Regions from separate parts of the Homo sapiens genome. Here all the other regions are linked to region 1. The links are contacts of gene promoters, found by promoter capture Hi-C in blood cells and fetal thymus (Javierre and others, 2016). All regions are on one chromosome and are shown on one strand. Each heading gives the region's core, a stretch centred on a gene start or on the middle of the fragment in contact. The rest is flanking DNA. Distances are from core to core; before and after follow the strand shown.

Region 1 (5,023 bases), core at 1,866-4,365:
TCACTGTTGCAACAACAAGAAAGAAAGTCTGTCTTAAAAGCTTAACTATTCTGAGGACTTACTATATTAAAATTTCTTAAGATATCTGCATTTGAAAAGAGAACTGATGAGAGATGGCAATAAGTCAATCTATGATAGAATTTCAGACATCAAGGAAGGGCAGTGCACAGAATCCTGTAAGTCTCTTAGTGCTGTGTATCACTACAAACAAAGGTTGTAGCATTGTCTTTCTGGGTGTCTTTGGGTTTTTACAGATGTCTCAGGAGCAACTGCAGGAAAGGGAAAGAGAGAAAGGCTTAGGGGGATTGGGCTCCGAGACCTCACTCCAATTTCAACCATAATAACTCTTCTATATTTTGGGATTCTACGTAAGATTTAATTTGGAAAGCGTTCTGGTGTTAACACAGAGAGAAAGTCACTGCATTATGACATTATTTAACCCACACTCAGGCAAAGTGGGTTTTTTACCCCTCCACTGTTTCTGCAAAATGTGCCTACTTATATGTATGGGTTTACCATTAAAGCAGAGTTGGACACATAAGAGACACAGCATTATTCTTCCTCTTTTTTGTTTAGCTATTGTGACGGGCATAGGGGGAAAGATTAGCTGCTTTTGCTTTGTTCTTGTCTTTTAAGAACTGAAAAATCAAGATCTTCATGATTCAAAATGTGCTATAAGACTGAAGTAAGAGTCGAAATATCTAGTTTATTCTATTATTTGATGATTTATTGGCTGTCTTTCTTTGTATTTATTTTTTGCCATTGGGTGAACAGAGTAGGCTATCAGGATGTACTATTTGTATTCATGTGATTGAGGCAGAAGCAGTACATGAATACTAAAAACAATTGTAACTGATGCTGGGAGTATATAAAGGAAAGAGTGGCTTGCAATTCTCTTCAATTGTAAAAGCATAATTCTTACACACTTGTAGCCCTCTATACTTTTCCATGTATTTCTCATTGGAAACCCTCAGCCATCCTGGGAGGTACGCGACCTGGCACTCCTAACACTATCCCCTAGATGGGCTCAGAGCCTATGGAGGCTCAGAGAATCCTCCCAGGCCTGAGGCCAGTTAGTGAGCGCGGAGATGGGGCTGCCACAGGGCTTCTGAGTCTCGTGCTCTCTGCGATGAGTCAGTGGTGTTTTGTTTTTTCCTGAGCCGTGAGGTCGAGGGAAATCTTAAAACAAATGGCTAACTAGGGCCTTTAGCCCCACCTTACCTCCACCACTTCCACCATAAAACCTTAAGTCTGTCTCTGCACTTGTCATGTCATTGTGACAAGGAAGGAGTCCCAAGAAACAAACAATGAATACCACCCTCAATTTCGTTAAAAGATTCTTCAGTTAAGCATTTGAATCTCAAAATGCTCTTCAAATTCTAATAGCTCATCATTCATCCACCCACACTCTTCCTTCAGTCAAGACACTTGGCGGCAACGCCACACAAGCAACCCGGAGCTCCGGGGCACTTCTGGCTGGGTGGACCCGGCTTAACCAGAAAGAGGGGATGTTGGAATGTCACAGGGGCTTTCTTTTCTTTCTTTTTCTTCCTGTGTTTCCCCCCGAGAACTCCTTTTTTAAGTTACATGTCCAGGTTGGATATATTAAAATGACGCAGATGAACAAGGACTGGATGGTCGAGGAAGGAGGCCAAATAACTTTTACTAGCATGGGCCTCTGAAAATGAAGCAGGGACAGAGACACTTTGTAGCTCAAGGAAAAGCGGCACGTTAGAGACCAGGCTCCAAGCCTGGGGTCTTTGTTTTTGTGTCTTTTATAAAGTGGCCCATAGGGACAGCAGGCTGTGTGGTGGGAGCTCCTCCTCGCTTCGCGGATTTGGCCCCGAGGGCAGACGAGTCCGGTGGAGAGAAAAACCCTGAACTTCCAAAGGCATCATCCCGCGAGAGGGAGTTTCGGGGATGGCTTTGGGAAAATGTAAAACAAGGAGATGGGGAGCCAAGGATGGGGGGCGGTGGTAATCAGAGAAGCCTTAAAAGAATAAAGGGGAGTCCAGCCCTTGAGCAAGAGTGAGAAAGAGAGGCTGGGTGGGAGAAGATGGGAGCAGACAGGACGCAGCACGAGTGCCAGGGCGCGCATTTGGGGGGTGTCCTGGCGGTGTGGAGAGAGAAGAGAGAGGGCGCGGGTGACATCACGCCCGGGCCCCCTTCCCCTCGCCGGGTGGGTGGGGCTTCGGCGCGCCGGGAGGGCGCGGGGTCAAGTAGGGGGAAGAGGAGGAGCAGGCATGAATGTGTCTGTGTGAAGACCGGGGAGGGGCGGAGGAGGAGGAGGAGGAGGAGAAGGAGGAGGAGGAGGAGGAGGCGGCGGCGGCGGCGGCGGCGGCGGCGGAGGGCGGGGAGGGAGCGCGCGCGTGGCTCGCGGCGCCCGGGCTCCCCCCCAGCCCCCGACCCCGGCCCGCGACGCGCCGCCTCCCAGCCGCCGCCGCCCGCCTCGCAGCTGGGACCCACTCCGGGCTTGGGGACCCGGCGGGCGGGAGAAGCGGGGGCTCCCGGCGCGGCCTGGAAGGAGCGAGAAAGCAAAAGTAAGGCGAGCAGCACTCCAAGTTTTCCCAACTTCGCCCCCTGCGGCGGCAGGCGTCCTGCTGCTCAGCGCGTCCCCTCCGAGCCCGAGAGTGGCTGAAAGAAAAGGGACTGGGCGGGGGCCGGGGCGGAGGAAGAGAGAGTGCGAGGGAGCGAGGAGAGTCCGGCAACATCTGTTAAAACTTGGGGGAGGAGGAGCGCGGGGAGGAGGAGGAAGAGGAGGAGAGAAGGGAAGGAGGGAGCGCGCGGGAGGGGAGCGCGGAGCCGAGGGACAACTTTTCCACCCCGTGAGTAGTGCAGGCGGTGCCAGGTCGGGGCGGGGGGCTTCTCCACCCAGCACGGGGCACCAGGCCGGGATGGGACCTTTTTCCAGAAAGTCGATTGGATGCCAGGAGAGGCGTACGGCTGGGGGTTTCTTTCTTTCTCTTTCCCCTCCCTCCCGCGGTTGAACCAAATCAGAACTGTCACTCAGGGCTTGTGAGTCAGAAGGGATCGGATTACACGATCCCCGAAACTGATGCCGGAGCTGCACGAGCGGGAGGGAGCGGGCAGGGGCAGCGCCACCGGCGCGCTCGCACACTCGCACTCGCGCACACCCGCCGCTCCCACTCACCCGCGCCGCTCTCCCGCCTTCCCCGCGCGCCCCGCGGCCGCCCGCGCCGCACCATGCCCGCGGCGGGCGCACCCCGCGCCCAGCCCGGCCGCTCGCGGTAGCCGTAGCCGCCCGCGGCCGCGCGGAGCGGGGAGCCGCCAGCCTGCGCCCCGTCCGCGGGTCTATGGGAAGTTCGGGGACTTGACAGCCGCTGCCGCCGCAGGTACGTCCCGCTCGAAGTTCTTTGTTTCGCGGACCCCGCAGCCCGCTCCTGCGGCCGCGCCCGCGCCTCCGGGGCCAGAGGTGGTCCCCAGCGTGGGGACGGGATGGAGTGAAAATGGCTGTCAAAAGGCGCCCAGATTTAGAGAGCCGCCGGTGAGGCGTCCGAGCAAGGCTTGCATTCGCTCCCTCCTCCTGGAAGGTCCTTTCCGAAGAGTCCGACCCGCGGACCGGCCGGAGACGGATTGGAGAATTTCACCTCCCGGAGGGGGGACGAAGTTTGCCGCAGTGGTGGCGGCGCCCCTCGCCTCCGCCCCCATCCAAAGGGTTCAGAAGAACTCCGCGAGCCCCGCACGCGCCTGGCTCCTTCCTTTGCGCGGTGGCGCTCTACGGCTCGGGCTTCGGGCGCGCACGGCGCTCGGGATGGGCGGAAGGAGGCGGGAGGCATGGTGGGTGCGCGCGGGGACCTCCGCCGCGGGGGCCGCCGCCGCTGGGGCTTCTCCAGCCCGGGCTATGCTTCGGAGGGCGGGGGTGTGGTGTGAGCGGATGGAGAGAGGCGCGCCTTCGTCGTCATAGAGGAAAAGTGAAAGTTGTACCATCTGTATATGATTTGGGATTCTCTTATTTCTTTTCCTTTCCAGGGGCAGCGCGCACAGACACACAAAGTAACCGTGGTCCATGCAATAATCATTTAAGGTGCCGCGTTTACACAGAGCAGCAGGGGACAGTTACTTTCTTGAGTAGCAGCGGGAAAACGGGCGGGAGAAGGCAGAGAGGGTGTAAATATTGATCCCAAACTTGCAGAGTTTGTGAAGCGACTTTTAAGCAGATTGTCCGAAGCGGACGCTCCACCCCGCACCCGGCCTTTTATCCTTTCCTGAACTTTGTGCTCCTGTCCCCCATTGCACCTCCTTCTGTAAGATGCCGTCCCCCGAGAGGCGCTGCACCCCAGGCTTCCCTGCCTGACCCCGCGTGGAAAGAGGATTAAGGAGGCTCCCTCCGCCGCTGGTCATCCTGCCCCAACTTCTCATCTCCCCAGTGCAGACTGCCGGGTAGATTCTGGCCTTGGGTACAGTGCTCATGGCCCTCTGCCAGTTTATATGTACATATATTTATGTAAAACATTTTCTCCCAGCTCTTTGCCAGCTGTTCCACATTTTCCAGCTGCCACTTCAGTTTGAAATGATGGACTGTCTGCGTCTCCAAGTCAAAGAACCCTTTAGTCAAAGGTATGGAGGGCCGGCCGCTGTGCAAATACATGGCAGTGCCATTAGCCGGGCTGGTATTATTAGTTCTAAAAAATACCTCCTGCTCCCCTTTTCCTCTCCTCCCTCTTCTCTCCAGTTAGGCTTTCCAGAGCACAGTATATACACTTTGCTGAAAATTCGAGTAATTAGGCCTTTCCCTCTTAAATGTGATTTTTGTACAGAATTTGGATGAGGCCGTTTTTTTAGATCCCTGAAATATGTGTCTGGTGGAAATAAATTAACTTTTAAAAATAAAAGAGTTTCAGCTTGAGCGCATTGGGCATGGCGGGTGGGGGGCCTGCACCCTGGCCGTCTGAAATGAGCTCTTTTCAGTCTATTTAAGGCAGGAACCATTCATCCTCCCCATGCTACACTTTTTGTGTTGTTTGATGTCTTAGCATATTATAGACCGAAATCTACAAGAATT
Region 2 (5,023 bases), core at 652-3,151, 670 kb before region 1:
CAGAATTAAAATTCTTGCAGAAAGTAGAAGCTGGGAAAGTAGCTATTAAAGAGTCTCATTTACAGAGCACTAACCTAACACACCTGAGAGCCATTGTGGAATCAGCAGAAAACCTGGAAGAAGTTGTTAGTGTTCTTCATGTCTTTGGTTATACAGATACCTTAGGAGAAAAGCAAACCCTTGTGGTAGATGTAGTTGCAAATGGTGGTCATACTTGGGTGAAAGCCATTGGCCGGAAGGCTGAAGCTCTTCATAACATCTGGCTGGGCAGGGGCCAATATGGTGACAAAAGCATCATTGAGCAGGCTGAAGACTTCCTCCAGGCCAGTCACCAGCAGCCAGTGCAGTATAGCAACCCTCACATCATCTTTGCATTTTACAACAGTGTCTCCAGCCCCATGGCAGAGAAGCTGAAAGAAATGGGCATATCTGTGAGAGGAGACATAGTAGCAGTCAACGCTCTGTTAGATCACCCTGAAGAGCTTCAACCAAGTGAGAGTGAATCAGATGATGAGGGCCCTGAACTTTTGCAGGTGACCAGAGTTGACCGAGAAAATATACTAGCAAGTGTTGCGTTTCCAACAGAAATTAAGGTCGATGTGTGCAAAAGAGTAAATCTGGACATTACTACTTTAATCACATATGTATCTGCCCTCAGCTATGGAGGCTGCCACTTTATTTTCAAAGAGAAAGTGCTCACAGAACAAGCAGAGCAAGAGAGGAAAGAGCAGGTTCTACCTCAGCTGGAGGCCTTTATGAAGGACAAGGAGTTGTTTGCTTGTGAATCTGCTGTCAAGGACTTTCAGTCTATTTTAGATACCTTAGGAGGACCTGGGGAGAGAGAGAGGGCCACTGTGTTAATTAAGCGAATTAATGTGGTACCAGACCAGCCTTCTGAGCGTGCCTTGAGACTAGTGGCCAGTTCAAAAATTAATAGCCGCTCATTAACAATTTTTGGGACGGGAGACACCCTAAAAGCCATCACAATGACTGCTAATAGTGGTTTTGTCAGAGCTGCAAACAACCAGGGTGTTAAATTTAGTGTGTTTATCCATCAGCCCAGAGCACTTACTGAGAGTAAAGAGGCTCTAGCCACCCCCTTACCAAAAGACTACACAACTGACAGTGAACACTAAAGATACCCTTTAAATATTTTTGTGGAAGTAAGTTATTTATACCAAAGGCTGGGTCTTCCCATCTAAACTGGTGGGAAAAAAGGTCTATAGTAAAAGTAAAACTGAGAACTCTTAAACCAGTAGAGTTTCTTTGTCTCTCATCTAAAGTATATAACCTCCCAAAGTAGAAAAAGCACAAGAGAGAAGCTTATCTATCAAACTGTCTGCATTAGTGCAATTAAGAACCGAAATACGTCTATATAAAGCTTTCAGCTGTATTGTAATACTTTGATTCGATAGGGCTACAACTCCCCTACTGCTAACCACATTTCATGGAATATGGCTACATTGCATCTTGCATTAAATATCTGGAGAAAATTCAAGCCTGTTTTTCATTGTATTGCTTTATATGGTTTAGGCTGGGAGGTAGTCGTTGGTAATCAATTTTAGATTCTAAGGTTAACCATTAATGAAAAACTTATTTGCTGTATGTCAGGTGCAGTCTGATAGGTGTTTTTACAAAAAGTACATAATACAGAAGAAATGAGAAAGTGAATTATGGTTATTTGAGTGCCATGAACCCATTGGTAGACCTTTGTGAAAAGAAAGCCAACAATCTTACTACTATAAGATAAAACCAGGACACTTAAGGTAAAATACTAATTTGAATGAATTGAAAAAGGATTATGTAAAAGATTTTAAAAATTCAATACAGAAAGCCCCCATATTATAAGTATTTGAACAATAAATACTATTTTCATGTTTCATTTGCAAGTGGCAAGTGACAACTGCATTACCTTACTTTCATGAGATGGTGACAGAATATTCCATGCCAATTCCATGACACAAGTTGTAGTTAAAAATACACTTCTATGGCTACATTGCGCTAGATACTTTATCAGTTTTCAATAAAGCAAAACTAGCAAAGTCGGTATGTATTCACCACATTTAAAAATTTGGAATTTGAGTCCTGGAGCTTAAATATTAACTCATGCTAAGTGTAGGAGCTGGTATTAAAACTTGATGTTTCTAGCCACAGTCTGATCTCTTTCTACCATGCCAAATGTCGTATTTGTTGAGAAGAGAATCTCAATTTACAGCCACAGTGTTTGTTGGGGTGGAATTTGGTTATTGGCATTCATGAACACCCTGAAATGAATGCAAAATTAAGTGTATGGGGGTGGTTCTCTGGGGAGAGATTGCTTTACTAAGTCAGAATACATTTTCTAGTAGAAAGGCTGTGATTTGCTTCCAGTTTAGTGTAGAGTGGTATATGTCTAGTGTTAGAAATGGAATTTAAGCTTTTTGAGCATCTATTAAGGTCATGTAGTACTTGATACTATTAAGTACCAAGCATTATAATAGTTTGGTGTGAAAAGATGAATGTTTGCTCTAAGGAATTCTTAAGTCTAAAGTGGAAGTAAACAACTGAAGTGCAATTAAATGTACTAAATTCTCTAGGATATGTTGAAAATACTATGGGGACAGAGTAAAGGAGTACTTGTTATGGGGCCAGGAAGTCAGAGAGGAAGTGTTGTTTGAGGGTTTGGGGTGTGAAATTTCACAAGATGTGTGAGAAAGGGTACTCAAAAGTACATGGAGGAATGGGATTGGAAAAGTACCAGAACTGTGACTATGAGGACCTGTTCAGGGACCAGGCTCAAGTGGACAGTTTATAAAACAAGATGGAGCTAGAAAAAAAAGTCAAAGTTCTCTAAAGAGTTTGGCATTAGAGAGCCATTGGTGATTTTTAAGAAAGTGTGGCTTATGATCAGGTCTCTTAAGGAAACCACAAAAATCTGTAGTGTGGATAAAAATTGAAAGAAAGTTTGGACTATAATGACCTTAGCTAGAGCAGGAATGATGGACTGTAGAGTCATGGATACATGTTGGATTTGTTTGAGGCAGAATTGACATATTAATGTACTCATTCGTTTAATAAGCATTGAGTGACAGCCATGTGTCAGACACAGTACAAAGGGCATGGCATATAAAAGACTTGTTTTAAAGGAGCAGAAAGAAGGTAGATTTCTATCCCTGCTCCCTATGAATCAATCAATACCTAAGAACTTGGGATCTTTGCCAACTAGAAAGTGGACAGGCCACAGCACTCTTTAGGAAACTGCTTTGTGAAGTGACCACAGCTGTGCCCTGCCAAAGACCATGATGTTTTTTCAAGCATTCCAGTGATTGCAACTCCTAACAATGTAATAAATAATGCAAGCAGTACATATGCTCAAGTAGTAGGGCACTGGATCCTGGAATGTAAGAAATAGCACCTTCCCTAGAGACCACACACATGATCTACACTGTCAAGGTCTATTCCAGCTGGCCAAAACATTCCTTTCATAAAGGTAAAATATTAGACAATAAAGGCCGGATGTGGTGGTTCACACCTGTAATCCCAAAACTTTGGGAGGCTGAGGGGCAGATCACCTGAGGTCAGGAGTTCAATACCAGCCTGGCTGGCATGGTGAAACCCTGTCTGTACTAAAAATACAAAAATTAGCCAGGCATGTTGGTGGGTATCTGTAACCCCAGCTACTCAGGAGGCCGAGGCAGGAGAATCACTTGAACCTGGGAGGTGGAGGTTGCAGTGAGCCGAGATCACGTCATTGCACTTCAGCCTGGGTAACAAGAGCGAGGCTACATCTCAAAAAAAAAAAGAGACAATAAAAACAATGAGGGAAGTTATAAAAGGAATGTTCAATTAAATATCAGTTAACTGGTAAGTCAAAGGAATCACAGAGCTATAGCTATAAAGCAAACAAATGTCCAAATAGTTCTAAAGTGTGAAGATACGTAATAAACTGTCGTTATGCCTGGGAATTGGAAGTGGTTGAGGAAAGTAAAAGCATGCTAAAAATCCTCATCTTACTTAGAGTCAACAGACACTTTGAAATTTTGCTATTGAAAAATAGAGCTATTTAGTTTTGAGTGTCAAACAGGAAATATAACTGATAGTATAAATTAAACCAAGCTGAATAGCTGAATAAATTCCAAACAAAAGGTGAGGATGGAGAATAAATGTAGTCCATATAGAAAAAGACAGGTCAGGCTGGGCGCTGTGGCTTACACCTGTAATCCCAGCACTTTGGGAGGCTGAGGCAGGGTGGATCCCTTGAGCCCAGGACTTCAAGACCAGCCTGGGCAACATGGCAAAACCCCGCTCTACAAAAAATACAAAAATTAGCCAGGCATGGTAGTGCACTCCTGCAGTCCCAGGTACCAGGGAGGCTGAGGCAGGAGGCTCACCTGAGCCTGGGAGGTCAAGGCTGCAGTGAGTTTTGGTTGTACCACTGTACTCCAGCCTGGGCAACAGAGTGAGACCCTGTCTCAAAAAGAAAAAGATAAAAGAATTGTGAATGAGGCATAAAAAGCAGAAAGCATAAAATAAGAGTGCTAGCTGCAAGCACAGGAAGGATATAAAACAGCTTTGGAGGGAGATATATAGATAATTGTGATATACTGGGAAATCTCATTGGAACAGATGACTGTTTCAGGAAATGTAAATTAGAATTGAAAAATAGCCTAAATAAGCAATAACCATTTAAAAAATTGTTAAAGAAGTTAAGTAATTTCTCCAAAATATGTGCAGATGCAGTTAACTTTATTAGACAAGTTTTTTCCTACTTTTAAATACCGAATAATCCCCGTGCTCTAAAAGGTAATATGGAGCATAACCCCGTAAGTGGGGTTGAAATGTAACATGGTAAGATGTGTTGTTCCTCTTACTCCCTGTCCTCTGCCCCAAGAGGAGAACTTTGGCCTGCTCTCCTGTTTGAGAACAGGGCCTGGGTATGGGACTGAAGCCCATGGGGTGTTTCTTGACTCATGTAATAACAGGCTGACTGTCTCAGGTCATCCTTGTATTGGAAATGTTTTCAGACTCATTTTACAGAACATGA
Region 3 (5,023 bases), core at 1,880-4,379, 590 kb before region 1:
CTCTTTTTAAAACTTTAGAAGGAACTTTCAGGTAGCCTGGCTTTGTGCATCAAGTAGCATGTATAATTCCACATCTGAGGCATCTATTCAATGCTTCTCGTGAGTGCCTTCCATGCATTAGTTTGCCACTGAGGGAGAGTGCCTGCAACTCTCCTGCACATTGCTTTCAGGTTAATCTTCCCTCTCCACGGTGGAGATAGTGATCCTGACTCAGGGCTCCACGATGTCCGAGGAATTTGGAGGAAAACAATCTGTTTTGTGGTTGAACAGGAGGCTTCTATTACCTGAACTGCTGTTTCAGCAGAGGTAAAAATGCACCCCCCCACACACACAGTCACACACACAACATACACCATACATGCAGTCATACATACTACATACATAACACACACACACATATATGTATCACACACACCACACATCACACACACTCATACTCACCACCCACACTGAATCTTGTTTCACTGCCCTGGCCTCAGCATAAAACTAGAGTGTGAGACTGGACTCTACATGAACTTTCTTGTTCTTTGTTCCTTCATTTATAAAATGAGGCCACTACAACCATGTGGTAGAATAAACAATGACCTCAGCAATATAATATAACTCAGTGCTAAAGCCAAAACCAGGATCAGAGAATAACAGCATCTCAAACCTGGAGAGACCAGGGTAGCAGAGCACTTGATCCAAGCCCCCATCTGAGGAGGCAGAAATCTTCCAGGACGGGAGGGTGTTTTCATATGGCAGGAGTCCCAGGACTTACGGCTATAGCCTCTTGTCCAATGTATTGGGTTTCTGCAGCCTTGTGTGTGTGACTTTGAAGAGCCACATGTTTTAACTCCAGGGAAATGAAAAGTGAGCTATCTGATGTAGCTTATACATGAACCCACATCCTTCCATGAAACAATACCATTCCAAATAGAAGCAGCAATAGTCAGCCTCATTCTGATTCTATTTCTTCTATAGAATTCGTGTTTTGTGTGATCATTCATTCAGCAAATCTTTTTTGAGCTCTTCTTGTGTGTCAATTATTGTGTTGCCTAGTGCGGCTGTAGCCACACTGCAAGCACTGCCTCTGACAGCTTATGAAGAGTGCTACGCTGAATGCAGCTAGTTTGGCCATCTTCTATGTTCACCTCCTTCCATTTCCTGGCTCTAGTGTTCTGAATCTACACACTGAACTTTGATGCCTACAGAGTCACTGTTTCACTTGTTTTTGGTGGTACCAGACATGCAATTTACCAAATAGTCCCAGCTTCCTGCCTTGCAGGCCAGTGGGAAGTTTGCATTTCCTGGCCCATTGTGGTGGAGTAGAACCACGTTACTAGTTCTGGCCAGGACCTGTGAGTGTGATGTGTTTCACTTCTAGGTCGGAGCATCTCTACCTAGCTCCGTATCCCTCAGACAAGGAGCTCCAGAGAAGGGCTGGTGCTGCTCCCCAGCCTGGCTCCCTAAGGGACTGTAGGAACACAGCCTTTTGCTGACTCCCAAAAGCCACATGCCAGGTATAAGAAATCAACCATTGGGTTGTTTTTTTTTGTGTTTGTTTGTTTTCTTTTTTTCTTTTCTTTTTTTTTGTTTTTACAAGGAGCCTATCCCAACTGATTACCTTCATATAGAACATAGCAATTGGGTTCCTGCTTTATTTGGGCTAATCACTAGCATATATTCATTTATTGATTGATTCATTCATTTAACAAATAGGCCTCCAGTTCCTCCTGTGTGTCAGGAACAATTCCGGGGATTCAGCTGTGAACACGAGTCAACGATCTTCCCCATGTCAAGCTTATCTTCCAGTGGAGAAGAAGAGGAGTGATCACACTTAATAGGAAAAACAAGCAGGAAATAAAAGCAAAAACACAAATCCAGGTGGGCTTTGTCATTGCTGAGACTACTCCTGATAAATCCTGACATTTCAGGGTACTGTGCAGGAGACTTACAGACACCAGAAACCCGAAGGCAGCATTCACCTGGATAATGCTAGAAGGAAACATAAAAGGTCAGAGAAGGCCCCGACCATATGTACATCTTACGGACCACTGATGATGCTTCAAGATTGCTGGTCAGGTGAAGGAAACACCATGACCACCCCAAATCAATCACATAGAATTCCATGACTGAGGAAATTCTCTCCATTCTTTGCCTCCTCCAACACCTGCTCTCACTCAGCTCAATCTAGCCTCTTCTTTTGCCACATGAATGGGGTCAGGAGTTAGCAGGAAATAGAACGATGGGAGTAGGAGAGAATGTCTGTGAGAAAAATATAATGGTCCTCTTCCCCTTAATACTCCAGGCACAAAGGGGAGACTCAAGCTCATGGACAGTGAGAATAATTTAGCAGCATCTTCAAGCTGAATCCCAGTACTCTGCTTTCTAGTTTATGTGGTCTTGGAGGTGACTCGATTTATTCCTTTAAAATGAGAATAATACCTGTCTTACAGCATCACTGTGAAGGGGAAGGCAAGCTGAAGAGTACCACATAAGAAGGACTCACTGGCAGCCATTATTTTATGAAGGTAGAATTTTTTTTCCAAGTGCGTTAGCATCTGTTGTCCATTTGCTTTTTTAAAAATGATTGTAGAGATGGGGTCTCACTATATTGCCCAGGCTGGTCTCAAACTCCTGGGCTCAAGCTATTCTCCAGCCTCGGTCTCCTGAAGTGTTGAGATTACAGGCATGAGCCACCATGTCCGGGAGTTGTCTACCTTCCTACAACACTCCTGAAGAGGATGGCTAGAGAGGAACTCATGTTGTTGTAATCCCCCACAATGAGAAAGCTGCACACTGGTATACAAAATATTACCTCTTTGTTGTTAGGCCACTATGGTTACTTCTTGAGAAATCTGCTTTCTACTGAACATCAATTTATATTTCAAATAAATGAACATCTATAAAAATAGACGTCTGATTGAATATAAACGGGTGAGTTTTTAAATACCTGGATCATGGGGATTCTAAATGCTAAATTCTCGGTGTATTCGGAACTCATGAATTAAGAAATCCTTCCAGTGGTGCTTATTAGTTGGTATTTTAGGAAAGTAAACATTGAGTAGAAGTATTTAGAAATATTCCATCTGTACACCGGGGCCTGTTGTGGGGTGGGGGGAGCGGGGAGGGGGGAGGGGTAGCATTAGGCGATATACCTAATGTAAATGACGAGTTAATGGGTGCAGCACACCAACATGGAACATGTATACATATGTAACAAACCTGCACGTTGTGCACATGTACCCTAGAACTTAAAGTATAAAAAAAAAAAAAAGAAATATTCCATCTGTGTTTGTGAACTCCTAAGGACTGACCTAAGCCTGGAAATTGTGAACTTTTGAATGTTCATCTGTGCTGGCTTCTGCGAGGTCTGTGAACTTCCCTTACTCAATATTCCAGACTAGCTCTTAACTTATTCTGCATGGGAGATACTCCGGAATTCAAATCCTTAAGCAAGCATCCATTTGATTAGAGTTTATGGTAGTTTTATGCGTGAAAAAATCCCTGACCATTTGCTCTTTCTTTTAGGGAGCTGGTTAAAGAATGATGGCAACCTTGGAATATTATGCTATAGAAGACCTACTGCTTTCTAGAAAATGCTTTCCTGTTGTACATATGCCATAACCCCATATGTGGGTGTTGGCACTTGGTGTTTTAGATGATGAATAATAAAACATACTACATCAAGTCAATGCTCACTTCCGTCACTCTAATGGAGTGTTGGGCATTATTGTGATAATATCCTTAAAATAACTGAGTAAAAAACAAAAAAATCTTCCAACCACAGCCAGTTAACTTCCCTATATAAAAAATGTAGGTTCTTTTTTTATTAGGCTACAAAACTATTTCAAGCAAATGGAAACCAAATGTGTACCAAAAAAGAGCCCATGTGTATTTTCAAACTGTTGTACCTCAATGGTTCATGCCTTTGGGCTCTAGAGCAAAGAGCAGCCAAGTCTCCCTCCTCTCTTTGTGCCTTTAGGAGGGAATAAAATACATACCTGTTGAGAACATGTTTGCATGATTGTATTAAGCAAGTGACATATTAAAATAGTCCCAAATGTTTTGAATAGAACCATTTTAATATTAGCTTAAAAACTACCAAAATAGTAAATACATGATCGTTAAGCTCCAAATACTCTGCTTATTGGAAGAGAGCATTTAAAAAAAAAATAGAGAGGTTAATCGTATTTTTAAGAGTCCTGAGATGTGGACTTCTCTGATTTCTTGATGTCTGATGAGCAAAGACCTGTGAGTCTCCTAATCACTAATGCCAATGGAATTTAATGCTCTAAAATTAAAATTTCCCTTTTAAGTCAATAGGTACTCCTCTTATACCAAGAAGTTCTGAGGGGTAAGAAATGTATGAGAATATGACCAGGACAGACAATAATCAAGGAAAAGGAATAGATCCCACATAGGCACACACACATCAAAGCCCACACTCACATATACATATCCACGAGCACAGACACTCAACTTGTAAGCTTCAGTTCGTATCATGTCAAACATCAGAGAGGTTTAAATTTTTATTTTCAAGCCAGTGCCCAGGGATGGGCATCTCCAGGGAGCTGAGGATTAGCACAAGGCAGCCCTGCCAGCCATGCCTACATCCCCACAGGCACAGGACAAGCCAAAGCCTTTGTTGTATGTTGGCAATGCACTTTTATGAATGTAATTTCTATTGCTGTTTTTAGCCTTTTCACATCATGTAATGTGAGGCCTTATACTTGTTAAAAAATTTATTTTCAAAATTGAGAAAAATGGTATTCAATGGCCAATGTTTTGAAGAAAGTTTCTTGAATTTCCTTGTATGTTACTCCTTGAGTCCTTCCTGCTCTCGGAATTCATATAATGCTATGTTCTTGGCAAGCTGGGCTACTGTAGCAAACACAGTGTAATCAATAAATGAAAAATTAAATGCCCTATTATGGGCAAAGCAGGCCTGGCCATAATCCAGCGTAAGCCTTTCCTGTCCTCTATATTTATTAGACTTCGCGTTGCCCTTGTTCACGTTCGCCTTAATAAAAGCTAAAAG

Evidence for each region. Contacts are between HindIII fragments. The CHiCAGO score rates a contact against its expected background, and 5 or more counts as called.
Region 2: a contact is called between a fragment that was not itself captured here and the fragment with the promoter of GLI3 in region 1, in 1 of 17 cell types (endothelial precursors). The highest score is 5.5, in endothelial precursors.
Region 3: a contact is called between a fragment that was not itself captured here and the fragment with the promoter of GLI3 in region 1, in 1 of 17 cell types (M2 macrophages). The highest score is 5.5, in M2 macrophages.

What each region holds. Positions count from the first base shown.
Region 1 is chr7:42,235,301-42,240,323 of GRCh38, reverse strand. It overlaps GLI3 (GLI family zinc finger 3), which reads left to right and starts at 3,115. Exons shown (of 15, transcript NM_000168.6): 1 at 3,115-3,353. RefSeq lists an enhancer at 2,390-3,371. The HindIII fragment of the contact is 5,518 bases long and covers 43-5,023 here.
Region 2 is chr7:42,905,748-42,910,770 of GRCh38, reverse strand. C7orf25 (chromosome 7 open reading frame 25) reads left to right here. Exons shown (of 2, transcript NM_001099858.2): 2 at 1-1,498. The coding sequence ends at 1,136. Among named protein-coding and RNA genes, the nearest start is that of C7orf25, 3.8 kb to the left of the region's middle. The HindIII fragment of the contact is 1,035 bases long and covers 1,384-2,418 here.
Region 3 is chr7:42,826,769-42,831,791 of GRCh38, reverse strand. No RefSeq gene overlaps it. Among named protein-coding and RNA genes, the nearest start is that of C7orf25, 83 kb to the left of the region's middle. The HindIII fragment of the contact is 2,690 bases long and covers 1,785-4,474 here.